Linked DNA regions of Homo sapiens: regions 1, 2 and 3 are each linked to region 4. Evidence: promoter capture Hi-C in human tissues and cell types (Jung and others, 2019). All regions are on one chromosome and are shown on one strand. The core of a region is centred on a gene start or on the middle of the fragment in contact, and the rest is flanking DNA. Distances in the headings are between cores, read along the strand shown. Region 1 has its middle 6.0 kb from the start of SPRYD7. Region 2 overlaps FNDC3A (fibronectin type III domain containing 3A). Region 3 overlaps CDADC1 (cytidine and dCMP deaminase domain containing 1). Region 4 holds the start of RCBTB1 (RCC1 and BTB domain containing protein 1).

The links. Contacts are between HindIII fragments. The study calls those that stand out against the background at their distance.
Region 1: a contact is called between a fragment that was not itself captured here and the fragment with the promoter of RCBTB1 in region 4, in 1 of the 25 tissues and cell types used here (heart left ventricle).
Region 2: a fragment that was not itself captured here is called in contact with the fragment with the promoter of RCBTB1 in region 4 in 1 of the 25 tissues and cell types used here (dorsolateral prefrontal cortex).
Region 3: a fragment that was not itself captured here is called in contact with the fragment with the promoter of RCBTB1 in region 4 in 1 of the 25 tissues and cell types used here (IMR-90 fibroblasts).

What each region holds. Positions count from the first base shown.
Region 1 is chr13:49,940,977-49,943,676 of GRCh38, reverse strand. No RefSeq gene overlaps it. Among named protein-coding and RNA genes, the nearest start is that of SPRYD7, 6.0 kb to the right of the region's middle. The HindIII fragment of the contact is 6,546 bases long and covers 1-2,700 here.
Region 2 is chr13:49,117,760-49,120,459 of GRCh38, reverse strand. All of the region lies in intron 4 of FNDC3A (fibronectin type III domain containing 3A), which reads right to left. Among named protein-coding and RNA genes, the nearest start is that of MLNR, 100 kb to the left of the region's middle. The HindIII fragment of the contact is 4,000 bases long and covers 1-2,700 here.
Region 3 is chr13:49,264,636-49,267,335 of GRCh38, reverse strand. The region is part of intron 4 of CDADC1 (cytidine and dCMP deaminase domain containing 1); the gene reads right to left. Among named protein-coding and RNA genes, the nearest start is that of CDADC1, 18 kb to the right of the region's middle. The HindIII fragment of the contact is 5,389 bases long and covers 1-2,700 here.
Region 4 is chr13:49,584,150-49,586,849 of GRCh38, reverse strand. RCBTB1 (RCC1 and BTB domain containing protein 1) reads left to right here and starts at 1,292. Exons shown (of 13, transcript NM_018191.4): 1 at 1,292-1,406. RefSeq lists a silencer at 1,059-1,768. The HindIII fragment of the contact is 9,086 bases long and covers 1-2,700 here.

The DNA.
Region 1 (2,700 bases), core at 90-2,589, 360 kb before region 4:
CCGTCTCTACTAAAAATACAAAAATTAGCTGGTCGTGGTGGCATGCACCTGTAGTCTCAGCTACTCAAGAGGCTGAGATGGGAGAATCACTTGAACCTGGGAGGCGGAGGTTGCAGCAAGCCGATATTGGGCCACTGCACTCTAGCCTGGCAACAGAGCAAGACTCCGTCTCAAAAAACAAAACAAAACAAAAAAACATATTTACTTATTTGGGGGGCTTCGTTCATTTGTTGTTTTTATAAATATTTACAGAGTGCTCACTACATAGCAGACATCATTGAATTAAGAACATATAAAATGGAATTTTCCTTTTTTTCCTAAGAAATTGGAAAGATTAAAGTATCTTCCTAACTTCTCTCTTCCTTTCCAAGGCTTCACATATTTTTTTTAAGAATGTATTAAATGTTTGATGTGGACTGATATCTGCATTAGATGTAAGACATGATATCTACAAACAGGAAGTTTACCTACTTAAGAAGGGATGTAAAATAATTCTTAAAGCATTTGGGCCGGGCGCGGTGGCTCACGCCTGTAATCCCAGCACTTTGGGAGGCTGAGGCGGGCGGATCACGAGGTCAGGAGATCGAGATCATCCTGGCTAACACGGTGAAACCCCGTGTCTACTAAAAATAGAAAAAAAAATAGAAAAAAAAAATGGTGGCGGGCGCCTATAGTCCCAGCTACTCGGGAGGCTGAGGCAGGAGAATGGCGTGAACCCGGGAGGCGGAGCTTGTAGTGAGCCGAATCGCGCCACTGCACTCCAACCTGGGCGACAGAGTGAGACTCTGTCTCAAAAAAAAAGGATTTGGTTAAAAGTTTGGAATAGCTAAAAATAAGAAAAAAGTATTTTAATTATACTAAATTCTCTGCAAATCTATTCTGCTACACTAAAGTTCTCTTGGCCATAAACATATCCCTGGAGCTTCTTCTCACTAACTCTTGGTATTTCAAAGTTATTTCACGTTTTTGTTCTTGTTTTACAAATGGGGTCTTGCCACACTGCCTAGGCTGGAGTGCAGTGGCTATTCACAGGTGCCATCATAGCTCACTACAGCTTTGAACCCTTGGGCTCAAGTGATTCTCCCACCTCAGCCTTCCAAGTACCTGGGACTACACACATGTACTATCATACCCAACTCTCATAGGGTTGTTTCTTTTTTTTGTTGTTTTTTGTTTTGAGCATTTTTCGAACAATCCAGAGTTTCATAAACTTTCACCAACAATTTTAAGTAGTCCCACGTTCCCTATGACTCAGGTTACAGAATCTGTAAAGCATAGTGGCTTAGCAGTTGTCCCCAGAACTACACTAATTCTATCCAGCACCATATCTACAACCATAGACACACTTGCTTTAACAGAAGTATAGCAGTTCCTTCTCAACACAAAAGGCAGGTTTCTGACAGTCCCGGGGATATTCATCTGCAGGGCCATTATTGAGAAAATAGGTTTGAAGGGATTGTCACTATAGGTGGAGCCTTTTGAAAAACTTTATAAATATTTTTACATTCACAAAAATAAAATTATAGAGACTAAATGGCATTGTATCTATCCTAAATTAGTAATGTTGGGTACATTTTAATAATCCATGTGACCTTCCTTGTTACTAGAAATATTTTAGGGTCTTTCTCACAATTTCAACAAAATATTTATAATTTTGTTTGGTTGCAGATATTATATATACCCAGAAGTGTTTTTTTCTTCTGTCTGGTCCTTTCTGCAAATGTCGAGTACTTTTTCACTTTATAATCTGGAGATGGTGACTTCTTGCTCCTTGACCCCTACTGTACTTCAAAGACACAGAATCACTTGAATGCTTGAGATGCTTTGGGAAGCTTTTATTTGAACTATTTGGCACAGCTAAGTGTTCTCCAGCCTTTCTCCCATAATACCAGATTATGTAGCCTTATCTTTGGCCATGAAAACTTTGTACACACTTCTCATCAGCCCTTTCTACAAAGTCACAGGTTTAAATGCCCTCCTGTTAATAAGGAGCATAGATCCAAGGACGAACTTTACTTGTCCTCATCTTCCTTTATTTCTTTTGAAAATGCAAAAAACTACTTTGGTTTTGACCTTTGCTTTGTCTCCCTTTTGTATCCTCAGTATCTATTTTCGCTAATTATTGCCACAGTAGTACTTAGAATCTAAATTGGCAAGGAAAAGTACTTAGAAATACACTAGGGTACTTGCATTTCGAGTAAGGGAACTTGAGGTTGGGCAGGGATCACAGAAATCCCCTTGGTTTATGACAGTCTGCTTTATTTTCCATGGAAGGTAAGCAGAATAAGGTACAGTTCTAGGTTGAAAGTTTTTGGTAAATCACATTTTCTATTCTCTGAGACCTTTTTTATGTAGCACTTGCTATTGCTTTTTCTTCATTTTAAATATTAAAAAAATTGTTCTATTTTTATTTCTTTTGTACCTTTTTCAAATTCCTTTATTTTACCCCAGCTTCTTTTTCTTCCTAATGCCAAGTCTCTGCATTTTCCAAGTCTCCAACCTGGTTTACCTGTCTTAGCAATTAAAAGTACTATGTTGACCAGGCTGGTCTCAAACTCCTGACTTCAGGTGATTCGCCCTCCTCAGCCTCCCAAAGTGCGTTTCTACTAAAAATACAAAAATTAGCTGGTTGTGGTGGCGGGCGTCGGTAATCCCAGCTACTCAGGAGGCTGAGGCAGAAGAATCGATTGATCCCAGGAG
Region 2 (2,700 bases), core at 19-2,518, 470 kb after region 4:
GATGCTAGCTGGTTATTTTGCCCATTAGTTGATGCAGTCTCTTCATAGAGTCGATGGTCTTTACAATTTGGCATGTTTTTGCAGTGGCTGGTACTGGTTTTTCCTTTCCATATTTAGGGCTTCCTTCAGGAGCTCTTGTAAGGCAGGCCTGGTGGTGATGAAATCTCTCAGCATTTGCTTGTCTGTAAAGGATTTTATTTCTCCTTCGCTTATGAAGCTTAGTTTGGTTGGATATGAAATTCTGGGTTGAAAATTCTTTCCTTTAAGAATGTTGAATATTGGCCCCCACTCTCTTCTGGCTTGGAGAGTTTCTGAAGAGAGATTTGCTATTAGTCTGACGGGCTTCCCTTTGTGGGTAACCTGACCTTTCTCTCTGGCTGCCCTTAACATTTTTTCCTTCATGTCTACCTTGGTGAATCTGACAATTACGTGTCTTGGGTTTGCTCTTCTCAAGGAGTATCTTAGTGGTTTTCTCTGTATTTCCTGAATTTGAATGTTGGCCTGTCTTGCTAGGTTGGGGAAGTTCTCCTGGATAATATCCTGAAGAGTGTTTTCCAACTTGGATCCATATTCCCCATCACTTTCAGGTATACCAATCAAACATAGGTTTGGACTTTTCACATAGTCCCATATTTCTTGGAGGCTTTGTTCGTTCATTTTCATTCTTGTCTCTCTAATCTTGTCTTCACACTTTATTTCATTAAGTTGATCTTCAATCTCTGACATCCTTTCTTCTGCTTGATTGATTTGGCTGTTGATACTTGTGTATGCTTCGCGAAGTTCTTGTGCTGTGTTTTTCAGCTCTATCAGGTCATTTATGTTCTTCTCTAAACTGGTCATTCAAGTTAGCAATTCCTGTAACCTTTTTTCAAGGTTCTTAGCTTCCTTGCATTGGGTTAGAACATGCTCCTTTAGCTCAGAGGAGTTTGTTATTACCCACCTTCTGAAGCCTACTTCTGTCAATTCGTCAAACTCATTCTCCGTCCAGATTTGTTCACTTGCTGGCAAGGAGCTGTGATCCTTTGCAGGAGGCTTTTGGAATTTTCAGCCTTTTTGTGCTGGTTTTTCCTCATCTTCATGGATTTATCTACCTTTGGCCTTTTGTCTTGGTGACCTTCGGATGGGGTTTCTGTGTGGACATCGTGTTTCTTGATGTTGTTGCTATTCCTTTCTTTTACTTTCCTTCTAGTAGTCAGGCCCCTCTGCGGCAGGTCTGCTGGAGTTTGCTGGAGGTCCACTCAGACCCTGTTTGCCTGGGTATCGCCAACAGAGGCTGCAGAACAGCAAAGACTGCTGCCTGTTCTTTCCTCTGGAAGCTCTGTCCCAGAAGGGCACCCACCAGATGCCAGCTGGAGCTCTCCTGTATGAGGTGTCTGTCGACCCTGCTGGAAGGTGTCTCCCAGTCAGGAGGCACGGGGGTTAGGGAACCACTTGAGGAGGCAATGTGTCCCTTAGCAGAGCTTGGGAGCTCTGCTGGGAGATCCACTGCTTGCTTTAGAGCCGGTAGGCAGGAACGTTTACGTCTGCTGAAGCTGTGCCCACACTTGCCCCTTCCCCCAGGTGCTCTGTCTCAGGAAGACGGGCGTTTTATCTATAAGCCCCTGACTGGGGCTGGAGCCTTTCTTTCAGAGATGCCCTGCCCAGAGAGGAGGAATCTAGAGAGGTAGTCTGGCTACAGTGGCTTTGATGAGCTGCGGTGGGCTCTGCCCAGTTCCAGCTTCCTGGTGGCTTTGTTTACACTGCTCAGGGAAAACTACCTACTCAAGCCTCAGTAATGGCAGACGCCCCTCCCCCATCAAGCTTGAGTGTCCCAGGTGGACTTCAGACTGCTGTGCTGGCAGCGAGAATTTCAAGCCAGTGGATCTTAGCTTGCTGAGCTCTGTGGAGGTAGGATCCGCTGAGCTAGACCACTTGGCTCCCTGACTTCAGCCCCCTTTCCAGGGGAGTGAACGGTTCTGTCTTGCTGGCGTTCCAGGAGCCACTGGAATATGAAAAAAAGCTCTTGCAGCTAGCTCAGTGTCTGCCCAAATGCCTGCCCAGTTTTGTGCTTGAATCCCAGGGCCCTGGTGGTATAGGCACCGAAGGGAATCTCCTGGTCTGCGGGTTGCGAAGACTGTGGGAAAAGTGTGGTATCTGGGCCGGAATGCACTGTTCCTCATGGCACAGTCCCTCATGGCTTCCCTTGGCTAGGGGAGGGAGCTCCCCGACCCCTTTTGCTTCCTGGGTGAGGCGATGCCCCACCCTGCTTCAGCTCGCCCTCTGTGGGCTTGCCCTCTGTGGAAGAATCAAGTCTTACATACTGGAAACTTAAATTAACTAAAAAACGATAAGACTAGATTTTTGTCTTTGGATTACCCTGTGTAATGAAAACGACACATTTTCTAGAGATAATCTTCATCTTAAATTAAGATTAATAATAGTAGCCCACTAACCTCACATAATCCTTCCAGGAAGATTATTGTTAAAATTCATTAATTTATGTGACAACTATTTATGGGACACTTACTACATTTGAGTTACCACAAGAACACAAAAATAATTAAAAGGCAGTTCCTATCTTAAGGAACCTAAAATCCTGTAGGAGTAAAAATACATATGCAGTTGTCCCTTGGTATGCATGGGGGATTGGTTCCAGGACTTTCTGTGGATACCAAAATTTTCTAATGCTCAAGCCTCTGATATAAAACGGTGTAGTACTTG
Region 3 (2,700 bases), core at 60-2,559, 320 kb after region 4:
ACTACCACCCACAGGCCAAATCCAGTCCACTGCCAGTCTTTGTACAGCTCACAGGTTAAGAATGGGTTTTACATTTTAAAATAGTTGGACAAATCAAAAGAACATTTTGTGACACATCGAACTGTCAGAAATTCAAATTTCAGTATCCATAAATAAACCTTTATTGAAACACAGACACACCCATTCACTTATATAGTCTTTGGGTGCTTTCGTGTGGCAGAGTTGAGTAGCTGTGACAGACACCACACGGCCTGCAAAGTCTAAAATATTTATTATCTGGCCTTTTCAAGAAAAAGTTACCCAGCCTCTCACAGAGCCTCTAGGAATGCATTTGTGGAGTTACTGGTGTTGTGAAGTGTGATCCCAAAGCCCAGCGCTAAAACTATATACTCGAAGAGTCCTCCATGGTGCCATGGCTGTTTTTTAAAATCTTACAGGGAACAACTAATATTGCCTAGTTTTCTATCTGGAATAAATACCTCTTCCATGCATTAAAAATGTTCCTCTCCACAGACTGAGAATTCTTCTGAGAATCCATTCTAGGAAAATATTCTAAATACAGAGAAGAAATCTCATGCATGCACATTTAGTGCAGCATTCTTTAAAATAGCAAGCAAAGACGTTAAACAAACAAAAAACCCAAACCCAAAAACCTAAATGACCAAAATAGGGGAATGGTTGAATTAATTATGGTCCTCCTCATAATAAAACAGTTATCAAATATGTCCACAAAGAATTTATAACATGAAAAAATTCTTATGTGATGTTGGGATGGTGTCTGAAGGGCAATATTAACTTTTTAAAGCTTACAAAATTAAAGACAAAACAACAAACTAAATAGATCATTTTTCAATCAGTGTGACAGAGGAAAGGTTAGTAATGTTTAATATACAGAAAATATTTCAATTCATTAGAGCACATATGAATTGACAAGAATAAGGCCTAAAGAGAGACAAAAAGATACGAACAGACAATTTGTAAAAGAGAAAACATAACAGGATAACAAATGTGAAAAAATATTTTAATTTGTATTTGAAATTGAACGATGAGATGCCTTATACATAGTTAAGTACACAAATGTTCGTCAATTAATGAACAGTTTATAACAAAGAGACCCCTTTGCTAGTACTGCATGTAATTTCAGCTAGGAGAGATTTTTTTTTTGTGATTGTACCCAGAAGCAAATAGAAAGAGAGCCCACAGAGTGTTCTACCCTTCAAAATAATTGATGAACTAAAAAGTCTCAGTTAAACAAATAAACATTCTATCCACTCCCTGGTACTCCTGACTCACTGTGGCTTATGCTGCAAAGCAATTTTGAAGGCCTCAAACCTCATATCAGAGTGTTTCCTCCGGTTGCATTTCACCTTCCCTCTGTTCGAGTTCTCATAATCCATTTCCTAACCAGCAGTGATGGTAAACCTTTCATCTAGGCATCTTAGCTGCTTCCAGTAATCCTGATTCAAGAGGGGAAAAATCCTCTTTAGACAGACATTTGTGTATTAGTGGCAAATGCTAAAGCAGAGTTTCTCAAATTTTTTGATCTCAGGATTCCTTAACACTCTTAAAAATTATTGAGGACTCCAAAAAGCTTTTATTTATGTGGAATATATCTACTGATATTTACTGTACTTGAAAATTAAAACAAAATTTAAAATATTTATTAATTCATTAAAAATAACAATAATCTGTTATACATTAATATAAATAACATTAGCTTTATGAAAAAAACTATTTTCCAAAACAAAAATTTGTAAGAATGAGATTGTTTTAAATTTTTACAAATATCTTTAATATTTGGATTAATAGTAAAAGGAAAAACAATAGTTATCAGCAATATCACTGGAAAATTAAGAAGAGTGGAAGGACAAAACTGAGCAGCAGAATTCGTATAGACATTTAAATTTAAATTCTAAAAGCCCAATTGAGATTTTCAGGGAGGGTTTGTTCTGCCCTTTGGCCTCATGAATGAGTTTCATGAAGGGTTTCATGGATGGGCTTCAGTGGCCTATAAACTCTGTAAATTCCATTCTAATTTTTGCACATTTATTGTGTTCTGGTTAATTCCAGAAGACATTTCTAACATTTTTCTTACATCATATAATCAAAGTACTTAAATAAATTGACAATTATAAAAATAGATCAGTGAAATGCACCTTATACTTTAATAAAAAATGTTTTCAGAAATAGATAAGTGAAAGCTGAGTGTTTCTTTGATAGATTCCCCTGTACTATAGGAGTGATAATTGCAGCTATTGCAATAGTAGTAATTGTTAAATGGATACTAATGAATAGCATAGCATAGTGGGTAAGAGTTTATATAGCACAGGCTCTAGAATCAGATTAAGTAGGTTCAAATACCAGTTCTGCCAGTAACTGGCTTTAGAAACTTGGGCAAGTTAAATAATGTCTCCCAGCCTCAGTTTCCCTATTTGTAAAATGGGGGAAATAATGGTAGCTACCTCATAATTCATTATGAATTCAGTGAGTTAAACTTGAAAAGACTTATTACAGTAGCTGGCACATAAAGACTTGATAGTAGTTTATATGGATGCTATCTCATATTAGCATACATGGAATTAATAGTGTATCACTATACCTTTTTTTTTTTTTTTAAATAGAGACCAGTCTGTCACCCAAGCTGGAGTGCAGTGGTGACATCATAGCTCACTGTAACTTCTAACTCCCATACTCTACCAA
Region 4 (2,700 bases), core at 43-2,542:
ACATTTTATTCAGGAACTAGTGCAACAGGAGCGAGACCTCAGAATAGATACAGAACTAAGCTCAATTCTCTTATTGCATTAGTTTCTTAATACCTTTTTTTTTTTTTTTAATCATTGGCCCTGGTTTTCTTTAAGTGGGGGAGGTGGTGATTCAGGACATTTCAGATACAGACAAAAGAATGAACAAAGCAAAAAGGAGTAAAGAAACTTAGAGAAAAAGTAAATAATCCAAAGAAAGTTGAGTAGTCAAGGAAAACAAATTATTTGTAGCCAGAGCCTCCAGTAATGTTGGGGAAGTGGCAAGAGATGAGGGACGGTAGGACTTTTTTAATAATTCAAGTTACCAAAAGTGAAGTTATCTGGTGATATTTAGAAAATGAAATGTTTTTCTGTTTATTCCTAGGAGCTCAAATGGGAAAGGTAAGTGAACAAGTGGCTGGAATGCTATGCCAACAAGTTTGGATTTTATCCTGCAGCGCCAACTGGGAGTTCTCCGAGAGCTGTATGGTATTTTACAAAGGGACTGTAGTCTTTATAGGTGATAGGCTGGAGCAGCTCGTAGCAGTCCCTCTCCTGGCCTCAGTTTACTCGCTGGTAACACGAATCCGGTTGGACCAGATGCCCTCTTAGGTCCCGTCTAACCTCTATGGCATGCTTCCGAGGTACCTCTGCCTCTTTCCAATACCAGGACCTGTGCCTCATCTCGTCCTTCCTTCATACCTTTGTCCAGCTGCCACCTTCCCTAGTCCCTGGCCTGCCTCAGGTACTTTCAATCAGGAAGTGAGGGGCGGGGAGGGAGGGAGGCGCGTCTCCAGTAAAAACAAACTAGTCCCAGCTCCGCCGCCTTTCCTCCCAGGCAGCACCACCTGGGTGGTGCCCCGGGGCCAGACGCGCTCTAGAGTGGGCAGGGAGCCAAGTTTCTCGGTCGCTTTTCCGTCCTAGGTCTCTGGGGTGGTAGGCCGACCCTCCCCACAGCCAAGCCATCTCGGGGAGCAGAGCAGGAGCCCGTGCCTCGCGCGTTCCTGGTTCCTCAGACACAAAAGCCTCTAAGTCCCGGCAGCAGCCACCGGATTTCATGGGGACACTCCAGTGGCAGGGCCTCGGGGCGGGCCTGAGACGGCCAATCGGCTTCTAAAGAAGTCGGGTTGTAGGGCCCGAAGAGCAGGGTTTCGGCCGGGGCCGGGGCCGGGGCGGTGCGGGATGCTCGGCTGGGTAGCGTCCCGGGCGCGCGCTGCACCGGGTCACGTGAGGCGGCCGGGGCCACGTGACCCGGCGGGCCCGGCGCCCTGGCGCTCCTCCTCTTCGCTGCCGGTGGGCACCGCCGCTCGCTCGCACTTCTGCGCCCATTGGAGCTTCGGAGATCCCTGCGGTCCCGCGGGACGGCGCGGCAGCAGCTGACCTCGCAGGTAGCGTGTGGGCGCGGGGTCGAGCTCGCGGAGGCCTCTTCCCCCTCGGCCCTGCCCCTGCTTCCCTTCCCCGCAGGCCGGGCCGGGAGTGCCCCGTTACTCCTGTACCTCCCGCCTCCCTCGCTCGGGCTCCCGGGCAGTCCCTGCGGGCGCTGCGTCCGGGGCGAGGGATGGGGTCCCCGGCCCGGCCCCGCCAGCACCTCAGCTAATGTGCTCTCCTGCGAGGAGGAGGGAAGGATGGGGAGAGGCGAGGGAAAGTTTTCCCTGCCTCCCTCTCTTTTTTGAGGTGCACGGACTCGATTTTGCTCGTAGCTGAAGTCTGACTGCTGTGGGTGCCGTTTTACTGAGAGGAGATCTCCCCTCCGACTCTTCCTATTCTCTCTCCTTTCCAAGATCTTAGCATCTCTCCTTCGTCTCCTGAGAGTAGTGCTGTCACAAACCGTATTCTTTATCGTTTCCCTTTCCGACACAGAATCCACAAAGGCAGGGATTTTGTTAGTGAGGACTTTTATCCAGGCGTGCGGTGAACTCTAAATAAGTGACGTTTCCCTTGTCTGCCTCTGATAAAGTACCTACCTGCTCGGTTTAAGATGACTATCGAGCACGCTGTGTTCTGCTCGCATAAGTGGCCTTTTGTTTTTATTTATTTGCATGTAAGACACTTTCAAGCCATCTGCGGAACTCTGCAGCTGGGGATTACAATTTTATAAAGCAGTCTTGTAATAATGCTTTTAGAAAACCAGATTCATGATCTTCCTTGCTTTTGCCCTATTCTTTTTTTGGGAGGACTAAAAGCCCTTAGAGGACAAAAACTGAGTTTCTGAAACTGGTGTGTATTGTGGGCTAATAACATTAAAACATCAAAGTATATAATGCCGGAAGGAATGGAAAAATGATTGAATCCTGAGGGCAGTTTATAGGTGCTTTAAACTTTAGAGTACTCATTTCAAGTGAGCACTGGGTGAATTTCACCCGTTTAAACTGCTTTCAGGGTCGAGGATGTAACTGTATATTTGGATTCTATTAATATAACAGTTCATCTGTGGGATGGACTTTAATCCATTTAATCCATTGTGTGAATATCAGTCTATTTATTAATACTCTAGACGGGTCCTTTTTCTTCTACCCGCTAGTCTGTTTCTCTTGAAGAGGAAGCATATTCATCTTTAAAGAGATTTTTGCAAGTGATTTTTTTAAGTGTGTGATCCAAATGATAAAGTTCTGTGAACTTCAGAAAACAAGTAGCCATAAAAACCCAAAGCTGTCAAGCTTGTAGCTTTTAAAAAATGATTTG